Regions from separate parts of the Homo sapiens genome. Here region 1 is linked to region 2. Evidence: promoter capture Hi-C in 16 types of primary human blood cells and fetal thymus (Javierre and others, 2016). All regions are on one chromosome and are shown on one strand. The core of a region is centred on a gene start or on the middle of the fragment in contact, and the rest is flanking DNA. Distances in the headings are between cores, read along the strand shown.

Region 1 (5,384 bases), core at 2,809-5,308, 270 kb before region 2:
ACTCCCATCCCCCTGAGTACTAGCTACTAGTAAAATGAGATATCATGTTTCAGGCTTGACAGGGTCTCTGTTACAAACCATTCTTACATTCCTGGGCACAGAGCTAGTCTAAACATTCATAGAGCTCTTCAATTATATTTTGGCTCTTATATCAGCAGAGTTGAAGAGGAAAACAATGGCAGGGCATATGGGCCTCCTTTCACATACAGAGTAACAGAAACCCCAACTCAAAGGTCTTTTCAAAAAGGAAATATACTTATTCATAAAAAGAGAATTTCAGAGATAAAGCAGACTTTAGGTTACCCTCAGTGATGTTAGCAACAGCTCAGATTTTCAAATCCCAGCCCACAATCTATACTGACATCTTCATCTTGAAGTTGGCTGTCCTCCTAGGTGTAAAGTGGCTGCCAATAACAACTGGACTTTCTCTCTAAGGAGGGAGGAAGGACTTCCTTGGAAATCACAAGCAAATCTCTCCCCGAGGCTCTGCAGCCACAACTTGGTCACATTTCCATTTCTAAACCAATTCTTGACAAAAGGGAACATATTATCCTTAAATTATTTCAGCCCAGGATAAGCTTTCCCTCTGATACTTGGCCGCTTAGTGGAGGGTGGAGGGTTGGAAAAAGTCAGGCCTCTGTTACAGGAAGAAGGAGAAATGCTGAGTGGGCTACCAACAGTGTCCCCCACCTGGAGGGGGAGTCTTCGCTGAGTAGGAGCTTGAAATGGCTAAGTTAAAAACGGAAGTACATCTGAGGACCCTTCCAACTAGCAGATTCCAAGAAGACTCAATAATGCCTGATCCCAAATCCATTCTGAGCTGAGGCACTGTGTAACATCAGCAAACTGTGCAGGTTCTGCAAGAGGCACAAAGATAAATAAAAATGGTTCCATCTGGACTTTATTGCACAGTGAGAGTCATATGAGGTATCTGTAAACAACAAGAAAAGGTAGAATCACTTTGTGGGAAGTTTGATCCACAAGTAAGACTTCTGTGATGGTTAATTCTGTCGACTTGATTGGATTGAAGGATGCAAAGTATTGATCCTGGGTGTGTCTGTCAGGGTGTTGCCAAAGGAGATTAACTTTTGAGTCAGTGGGCTGGGAAAGGCAGACCACCCTTAATATGGGTGGGCACCATCTAATCAGCTGCCAGCACAGCTAGAATATAGAGCAGGCAGAAAAATGTGAAAAGACTAGACTGGCCTAGCTTCCCAGCCTACCTCTTTCTCCCGTGCTCGATGCTTCCTGCCCTTGAACATCAGACTCCGAGTTCTTCAGTTTTGGGACTCGGACTGGCTGTCCTTTCTCCTCAGCTTCCAGACAGCCTATTGTGGAGCCTTGTGAGCATGTGAGTTATTACTTAATAAACTCCCCTTCATATAATATTTTATGTGTGTATATATATCCTATTAGTTCTGTCGCTCTGGGGAACCCTAATACAACTTCCGAGGAGGGAGATCACTTCTGAGCAAATTATGAGGAATGGCAGCAAGAAGAAGGTGGCTTCTGAGCTGAGCCTTGTGAGAGATCAAATTTTACATAGTATGGGGGACAAGCATTCCTGGGTAAAGGGACAGCAATGGGGCAGGGCTAGTTAAAAAACAAGATGAGAGCATTATCTTCAGTGTAAATTGCTCCCCCACCAAAAGGACAAAGTGTCTGACTCACCACCTAGTGACTTCACTGGATGTTCTCCTTCTGCTCCACAATCCACCCCTCATTCTTCTCCACCTTCTTGTTCTGTGGCCCCAGAGGCTGGCCTTATGGACTGTATCAACTAGGCCACCTTGTTCCTGGTGTGAATTGGGTTCGACTAAGATGGTATGGGCAGGAGATGACAGAGTGAGAGGAAAGAGAGTTGGAGGTATGATTCCTCCAGCGTGCTCCTTGCCAGACTGTAGGTGGGCAGTAGCCATATTCCTCTAGCAAAAGCTATGGCTTTCCCCAAACAGCCCTTCCCCATAACTAGTGACATGGGAGTTGGGCAGGGAAGTGCTGGGTAGAGAAGGGCCAGGTCCCTGGTGAGGGCTCCACCCTCAAGCCTGTGCCACAGATCTAAGTGGGAACAGGCACTCCTGTTTTCATGACTGAATGTTGCATTTTCCAAGACCACCCTGGCCAACCAAGCCCCCCATCCTGTACCCATATAAACCCAAGACCTTAGTGGGTACACACACAAGCAGCTGAATGTCGAGACCAGCAGACCAGTGACAGCAGAACGATGCAGCAGAGAAGAAAAAGAGGGACGTCTTGATGCCGAGGGAAGGTCGGCCAGGGGTGGTTGGAGAAGGGTCCGGCTGCTGGGCAGCCCAACTCCAGGGAAAGATTATTTCCCCCACCCCTTCAACTTCCGGCTCCCCATCCATGTTGCTGAGTGCCGCCTCCATCACTCAATAAAAACTTGCACTTATCCTTCGAGCCCATGTGTGATCCGATTCTTCTGGGACACTGGGCCAGAGCTCAGGGAACAGAGGCTGTCACACTGGCCCTCTGCCCTTGCAATAAGGCAGAGGGTCCATTGAGCTGATTAGCACACAAGCCATCTGCAGATGGCAAATCTGAAAGAGCTTGGGTTACACGTGCCCACCTGGGCTTTGGGAGTTGCAGACACCCACCCCTAGACATTGCTGCGGGGCCAAGAGCCCAAAGCATTCATCCCGGCATCTGCACCTGCCAGTCTGCATGCTCCCCCTAGGGGTTTGAGCTGCAGGGCAACCAAGCAGGTGAGCCACACCTGTGTTGCATGTGCTGCAGGGGGAATCAGGGAACGCTCCCATTTCACTAGCTTTCAGTACCTGCTCCCTCCCTGTCCACCACACTGGAATAGCAACCTTGCAGCATTGCCAGCCCTGGGGGCTTCATTATAATGCCTGGTTTCCTTGCACTATCAGTGCCTCTATAGAAAAGGCGCTTGATTAAATTCTCCCCAGTCAGACCTTCTGAATATTCCACCTGCTTCTGGCCTGGACCATGACTGACAGAGATCTTTGTAGTCAACTGAAGTTAGCCAGTGATTTTTTTTTTAATTTCCATTGCTGTTTTCTTATTTCTTGGTTCTAAGTATCTTATTTCCTCATCTTCTAAGTGTGGCATTAATAATGAACTTCCCATCAGATCTATAAGTTGAAACTCTTTCATCTCTACCTTGAAGAGCTAGATATTTCTTTCAAAATGTTGGAACTATACAAATGACAAAAGAAAAAATAGAGAAATTGGACTTCATCAAAATTAAAATCTTTTATGCTATAAAATGTATTATCGACAAAGTGTAAAGCAACCTGCAGAATGGGAGAAAATATTTGCAAATCATATCTGATGAGGGACTTATATCCAAAATATAGAATTCTTACAACTCAATAAATAACCCAATGTTTTTAATGGGCAAAGAATATGAACAGATATGTCTCCAGAAAAGATTACAAATAGCCAATGTGTACATGAAGAGATACTCAACATCATTAGCCATTTGAGATATGCAAATCAAAGCCAGAATTAAAACCACTTCATCCCCACTAGGATGGCTATAACTAAAAAGGCAAGTAATAACACGTGCTGGCTGGTGAGGATGTGGAGAAATTGACACCCTCATGCATTGCCAGTGGGAATACAGGATGGTGCCAGCCACTTTGACACTTCCTCAAAATATTAAACACATACTAGATCTTTTCCCTTTTATTTTTAGTTGGCACATAATATTTATGTGATACAGAATGATATTTCCATACATGTATACAATGTGTAATGATCAAATCAGGGTAATCAGTATATCATCACCTAAAATATTTATCATTTTCTTGTGCCATAAACATTCAAAACCCTCTCTTCTAGTTTTTTGAGAATATAGAATAAATTACAGTTAACCATCTTCACCCTACTGTGCTACAGAACAGCAGAACTCATTTCTTCTATCTAGCTGTCATTTCGTATCCATTAACCAGCCTCTCCCTGGAGTCTCCTCCTCACCACTCTTCCCAGACCCTAAGACTCACTGTTCCACTCTCTATTTCCATGGGCTCAAGTTTTCTTTTTAGCTTCCACATATAAAGGGAACATGTGGTATTTATCTTTCTGTGCCTGATTGATTTCACTTAACATAATGACCCAGCAATTCTACTTCTAGGTATATACTCAAGAAAGTGAAAATATGTGTCCACACAAAAGCTCTGTACACAAATAACGTGCATAGCAGCATTATTCATAATACTCAAAAAATGGAAACAACCCAAATGTCCACCAAATGATGAATGGATAAATAATTCGTGGTCTACCTATATAATAAACTATTACTGGGCAATTAAAAGGAATGAAGTTCCGATTCATGCTACAACATAGTCGGACCTTGAAAACATCACGCTAAGTGAAAGAATTCAGTTACAAAATACTACATGTTTGATTCTATTTATGTGAAATGTCCAGATTGGCAAATCCATAGAGGTAGAACGTAGATTAGTGGTTGCCTGGGGAGACTTAGGGAGAAATGGGGAGTGACCGCTAATGGGTACAGGATTTCTTTGGGGGATGATGAAAAAGTTCTAAAATTGACAGTGGTGACGGTTGCACATTTCCTTGAATATACTGATAACCACTGTAAACCTTGAATTGGTGTATTACCTGTGAATGATAAAGCTAATAAAAATTAAAATGGTGTGTTTTAAAATTTTGGAACCAACTAATTCTAAAAGCAAATGTTGCCAAAATTTCCAGAATATCTTTGTCTATAATCTTTAGGCTATTTCATGTGTCTGACAGCTACTTAGTAGCCTCAAAAGAAATGTGAGAACAAATTAGTAGCTTACTGATCACCATCTTTCCACCCTTTAACCCAATTTGTTTGTTTGTTTGTTTTTTCCAGAAGCCAAACCCACACCAAAACATGAACCGGGGGATGGAATTTATTGCTCCTGTATCAGCTCCCACCAAATCTGGTGCCCCGTGGCATTTTCTTTCTCAAGGTCCCACGGATGCCCAGAGAGCAGTCAGAATCAGGCCAGGCACCAGGATGGGCTTGTCCTCAGATCCAGTTGTCGGCACCTTGTCTTCCAGTTACCTAGATCTGCTAACTCTCTCTTACAAGCCTGGGAGGACAGTGACAAGTTCATACCTAAACGTAAGCTCCGAAGTGTCTTAGCACCTCCAAGTTTAAGGAAACCCACGGGATGCTCTGAAACTTCCATGAAAATGAAGATTGGAGGGATTGTTGCATTCTTGCATGCCTGGATGTTTCATATTCTCTGAATGTCCAGCATGAAACTGATCTGATCCCATGCTTTTTTGCCAACTTGATTTATGTTAAGATAAAAGAAAGTGCCCCTTACCAAGATGCTCTGAAAGCACCTTCTCCCTTGTATTAATGATAACTAATGTTATTAAGAGAACATAAG
Region 2 (5,503 bases), core at 1,596-4,095:
AACTACACTAGATCAACAAGTGTGTTTTAAGTCACTGCTACTTAAACTGACTAAATACATTCTCAATTGTACCAGAAAATAATTTAATATGAATTTTTAAACCAATTCCCCAAAGAGATGTTTTTCAAAATATCTCATGGCAAGTACAAAGAATAGTAATTATCAAATACAGAGAACACTCAAGGGCAAAGTTAGAAATTTTTATCCTAGGCTGGGCGTGGTGGCTCACGTCTGGATCAGCATTTTGGGAGGCGGAGGCGGGTACATCACTTCAGGTCAGGAGTTCGAGACCAGCCTGGCCAACATGGTGAAACCCTGTCTCTGCTAAAAATACAAAAATTAGCCGGGTGTCGTGGTGCGTGCCTGTAGTTCCAGCTACTCGGGAGGCTGAGGCAGGGGAATTCCTTAAACCCGGGAGGCAGAGATTGTAGTGAGCCCAGATCCAGCCACTGCACTCCAGCCTGGACGACAGAGCAAGGCTCTGTCTCAAAAAAAAAAAAACATATACACACACACACACGCGCGCGCACACACACACACACACACACACACACATATGTATCCTAAAATATCCGAATTTCTGCCAAAAATCTGCATAACTACCTTATCTCATAATGGACAAGATTATTAATAGGATTTTTTAAATACAGAATTAATAGTAACTAATATAAACGTTACTTTTTTGTTATAATGTCTCAACACTTAGACCAGCACCTGGAATGCCCGTACAGTGGTGTCAACACTCTCCAAAATATATGTAATAAATTTATATTGCATTTATTTGTCTCCATTTTTATGAAACCTTAAGTTAGCAGATGCACATTAGATCTTTATCATATAGGACAGTGCAACCAGAAGAACGCCTATGTTTTTCTAACTTGTTTTCTTGGAATATATTCACTTTCCACAAAAACGAGAATTTAAGATGCAGTGTTCCTGTTTCCGGGAAACCTTAAATATTACATCACCCAACACACCTCCGAAAAGAGAGAACAAGACGCTTTATATCTATGACTAGAATCCTACCTATTCCTAACTTTAGAGACCATGAATAGAAAATTAAAATATATCTTAAATACTTGTTTTCCTGCAAATAAAATTACAAATAAACAAGTTAGGATTACACACTTGTACAGTATTCCTAAACATGAATTAGTTGCTAATGCTTATGAAGAGTAATAGAAAATAAACTCCAAAACCCCTAAAAGTATAAACTACATTCAATTGTGACAGCATTCGTGTTTTTCAAAGGTTTATTAAATGCTGTTTTATGATGACATCAAAACGCCACAAAATTAAACTAATAATAACTTGCTTGAACCCTAAAAAGCAAGCCTTTAAGTAAATAGCAAAGACACATTTTTATTTCCAAATGAATTTAAATGTTACAGATCCTGTGTGATAAAGGAAGTTTAACTGTGGACAGCACACGTTAAATTTCTTAGGCAACAAACATTTCTCCATGCAGTCTTTTCTGAATCACCAAAGCTATTGTTCACAGAAAACGAGACCAATTAATAAGAAACTGCTAACCGTATAATCTAAACACACATTTGTCATAGCCATTCTATTTTGATCACCTACTTCTACCACCTCATCCTCATTCAACCCGTCGGGATTTGGGGAATAATCTGGCTGAATGACAGTTGATTTCGTTAGCACCTGTCGCCATTCTCAGATGTATCACACAAGTTGGCCAAAACAGCTTGTAATGTTTAAGGATTACGATTCTTTAGAAAGTGGCAACTCACTAGGCGTTCACCAAGTTTTCCAAAAGATCGTGCTTCTCGATTCCTCCCGCTTTCAAAAAGTAACCCTGTGGCACAGATTTTTGGGGGGAACGGAAGGGGATGTACACAATGAAGTGGGAATTCAACAGGACGCCCTCCAGAAACACAATCAATAGAGAGCAGAGCAGCTCGACTCTTCCCTCAAACTTAGCATAAAGCCAGACCAGGCGGCGAGGGCAGCCCGCGACCGCCGGAGCTCAGGGGGATTTCGGGGTGCGTCGTGGGGAAACGTCAGAGGCGAAGCTACTCCGAGTTCCCCGCCGCGAACGTCGTCCCGCGAGCGCCGCGGCCCCAGCCCGGGGTCGGCGCGCCCGGGACCGGGGGCGTGCGCGAGGCGAGGGCCGAGCCCTGCCCACCCCGGCAGCGGCCCGCGCCTCCCCACGCCCCTCTCCCGCCCGCCGGCGGGCCCGGGTGTCATGCCCCTTCCCCTCGCGCCGAGCCCTCCGGAGACACAGTCCGTCCTTTGTCTGAGTGCGGACTCGGCGGCTGGGTCCCACCAACTTGTGTCTGTCCCGTCCCACCCGGGCGCTCCCGCCGCGGCCGCGCCACACAAAGGAGACTTGAGGCTCGAGCTGCCACCCTGGACCGGGCACCGGAACGCCCCGACCCCGGCCCCGGCGCCCCGGCCAGGACAAGCACCGGGAAAGGAGCCCCCCACACGCCCCCCGCCCCGCAGCTCCAGGGGTGTGCGCTGCCTCACTCGCAGGGTCCCGCGGGCCAGCCCGAAGCTCACAGCTCCTTCCGGGGAGGGGGGCTCTCCCCTCACCCTCCACCCCCCGCACGCCTACAAACGCGGCGCCCCGGTGAGCCCCGCTCGGCGATACCCGGGACCGGCACAGCAGTGGCGGGGAGGTCCTGGCGCCGCCGCCGCCGCCCGGTTCGCACTCCCGGAGCCCCGCCGGCCGGGCCGCCCGCAGCGGCGCGTTACCTTCGTCCCGCGCGCCGACTCGCGTTGTTCCCGCGCGTCGCCCCCGCGCGCCGCCGCCGCCGCCGCCGGGGCTCCACTGCCTTCTGAGTCCCACCGGGTGTCGGACGCGACCGGACCGAGCGCCAAACGCGGCAGCCCAATCGCCATCGCTTTTATTTGGCCCCCCCAGCCCAATCAAGCGCCGCCCCGATTGGCGGGACGCGAGGCGGGCGCCCGTCCAATCACAGGGCCCGCCGGGCTCGGAGGCGCCGAGCCAGCCCCACGCAGAGTGCGCTCAGGGCTCGTGGGCGGGCGGGCACTGGCAGCGCGTGCGCGCGCGGGCGGCGGCGGGGTTCGCTGTAAGGGACGCCACTGGCCGTGTGGAAGCGCCGCCGCCGTCTCTTTGTTCTTTCGCTGAACACACGGCGCCTCTCAGGAAGGCGGTGTGCAGGCACGCGGGGACCGGGAGACATCGCGGGGGCCCGGAGCCCGCCGCGGACGGGAGGCGGGGAGGATAGGTGGCGGGAACCGGCCGAAGGGCGGGACGAAGCGCCGGCGGCTCTTGGCGGGAACCGGCGCCGCAGAGTTCCCGGGCGGGGGAGGGGCGGGGCGGGTGCTGGAAGCCAAGTTTGAACCAGTTCAAAACTCGGGGGTGGTAACGGTTTTAACCGCCGCGCTCGTTTCCCCGCGCGCGGAGCCGAGGCCCGGGCTGGCCGCTCCTAGTGGTGCCCGGGGAGGGGAGGGCGCGGGCCCCGGAGGTCGGCTCAGCTGTGGCGCCGCGTTTGCCGGGAGACGCTCGCCCGGCCCGCGCGCTGCCGCCGGACCCGTTACTACTTTTTTTTTTTTCTCCTGAGACGGAGTTTCGCTCTGGTTGTCCAGGCTGGAGTGCAATGGCGCGATCTCGACTCACCGCAACCTCCGCCTTCCGGGTTCAAGCGATTCTCATGCCTCAGCCTCCCGAGTAGCTGGATTACAGGCATGCGCCACCACGCCCGGCTAATTTTCTATTTTTAGTAGAGACGGGTCTTGGTCAGGCTGGTCTCGAACTCCCGACTTCTGGTGATCCGCCCGCCTCGGCCTCCCAAAGTGCTGGGATTACAGGCGTGAGCCACCGCCGCCGACCCGGGCCCTGTTTGATTATGTCTGCTGCTGCCTTGGCCGTTTTTTCCCCCACCGCTGGACTTTGGCTGGCCGAGCTTGCAGTGCTTATCGCCCTAGAAACCTGTGAAAGGGCGACATTGCTGCCATTTCAGACCCTTCCACTGTTCGTAGTTCTAAGCACGTGTCAGTGTTAAAAATCCTTTATCAAGATGAGCACTGTTCACTTGCCGCCTCTGCAAAGTGTGAGGATATTTGCAAGGCGCGGTGGCTCACGCCTGTAATCCCAGCACTTTGGGAGGCCGAGGCGGGCGGATCATAAGGTCAGGAGATCGAGACCATCCTGGCTAATAACGGTGAAACCCCGTCTCTACTAAAAATACAAAAAATTAGCCGGGCGTGGTGGCGGGCGCCTGTAGTCCCAGCTACTCGGGAGGCTGAGGCAGGAGAATGGCGTGAACCCGGGAGGCGGAGCTTGCAGTGAGCCGAGATCACGCCACTGCACTCCAGCCTGGGCGACAGAGCGAGACTCCATCTCAAAAAAAAAAAAAAAATTGATCTTGGTTATGGGGGGTCAAGCTACCTCAACCCAGAGGAATTAGAGGGATTCTGCTTAGGATACAGTCTCTCCTATTGCTTCATGTGGCAATGCAGTTAAGAGTATTCCGAATTTATTTTTACTAGGATGTATCTATGGGGTAAAATACCATTGTCATGTAAACTGAGATTCCATATTGAGAGTTCATACTGGAAACTGAAAAAAGGTCACCTATGAACTGTTGGGGTAAAAATCTGAAGAAATATTTTTAATGAATTTAATAACTAGCCAGAATTTTTTTTTTTTTTTTTTTTTTAAGAAACGGAGTCTCACACTGTCGCCCAGGCTGGAGTGCAGTGGCACCATCTCAGCTCACTGCAAGCCCCGCCTCCCGGGTTCACACCATTCTCCTGCCTCAGCCTCCCGAGTAGCTGGGGACCACAGGTGCCTGCCACCACACCCGACTAATTTTTTGTGTTTTTAGTAGAGACGGGGTTTCACCGTGTTAGCCAGGATGGTCTCGATCTCCTGACTTTGTGATCCGCCCGTCTCGGCCTCCCAAAGTGCTGGGATTACAGGCGTGAGCCACTGCGCTGGGCCAGAATTTTTCATCAGATGATTTAGCCCATAATTTTCCCGCCTTTCCTAAATCACCATCCCATTCCTCACATATATTCTGAATCACTCCAATGTTGGAAAGTATATATAAAGGGAAGCTAAAAGATAAGGAGAAACAAGCAATCATGTGCCCAGATAAAAGCAAAATTGTCTTGTGAATCAGTGATAACACTGCAAAAAGTAAATAGGTTATGCAGCTGAGATGTGACTGTAAAATAACGTAACGAATTATAGCTGCCATTACTTCCAGTCACGAATACATTCATTCTCCAAGATAAAATGCATCTGTCTAGGCCACCAATTTACAATTTTTTAAAACCAGCAATTTAAACCTCAGAAATTAACTACTTATCCCTAAGTTGCTTATCAAATTACTGAACTTATCAGTCCTGTAATACTAAATATTAAAACAAGGCATTTTTAAGAGGAAGATCAACGAAATTAGAGACTACCATAAAGCAAATCAAAGCAGTATATAACTCTGCAACATGGTGTGAAATGTCATGTAAATTGCTAGACGTTTAGAATCAAGGAATGGATGGATCAAGATAT

What was found. Contacts are between HindIII fragments. The CHiCAGO score rates a contact against its expected background, and 5 or more counts as called.
Region 1: a contact is called between a fragment that was not itself captured here and the fragment with the promoter of EZH2 in region 2, in 1 of 17 cell types (activated CD4 T cells). The highest score is 6.4, in activated CD4 T cells.

What each region holds. Positions count from the first base shown.
Region 1 is chr7:148,609,187-148,614,570 of GRCh38, forward strand. C7orf33 (chromosome 7 open reading frame 33) reads left to right here. Exons shown (of 3, transcript NM_145304.4): 2 at 4,856-5,110. Among named protein-coding and RNA genes, the nearest start is that of C7orf33, 21 kb to the left of the region's middle. RefSeq lists enhancers at 2,004-2,504, 2,505-3,005. The HindIII fragment of the contact is 6,964 bases long and covers 577-5,384 here.
Region 2 is chr7:148,881,446-148,886,948 of GRCh38, forward strand. EZH2 (enhancer of zeste 2 polycomb repressive complex 2 subunit) reads right to left here and starts at 2,846. Exons shown (of 20, transcript NM_004456.5): 1 at 2,719-2,846. LOC124901767 (a long non-coding RNA gene) reads left to right here and starts at 3,744. Exons shown (of 2, transcript XR_007060579.1): 1 at 3,744-4,038; 2 at 4,912-5,503. RefSeq lists silencers at 2,010-2,599, 2,760-3,129, 3,250-3,479 and an enhancer at 2,100-2,791. The HindIII fragment of the contact is 14,290 bases long and covers 1-5,503 here.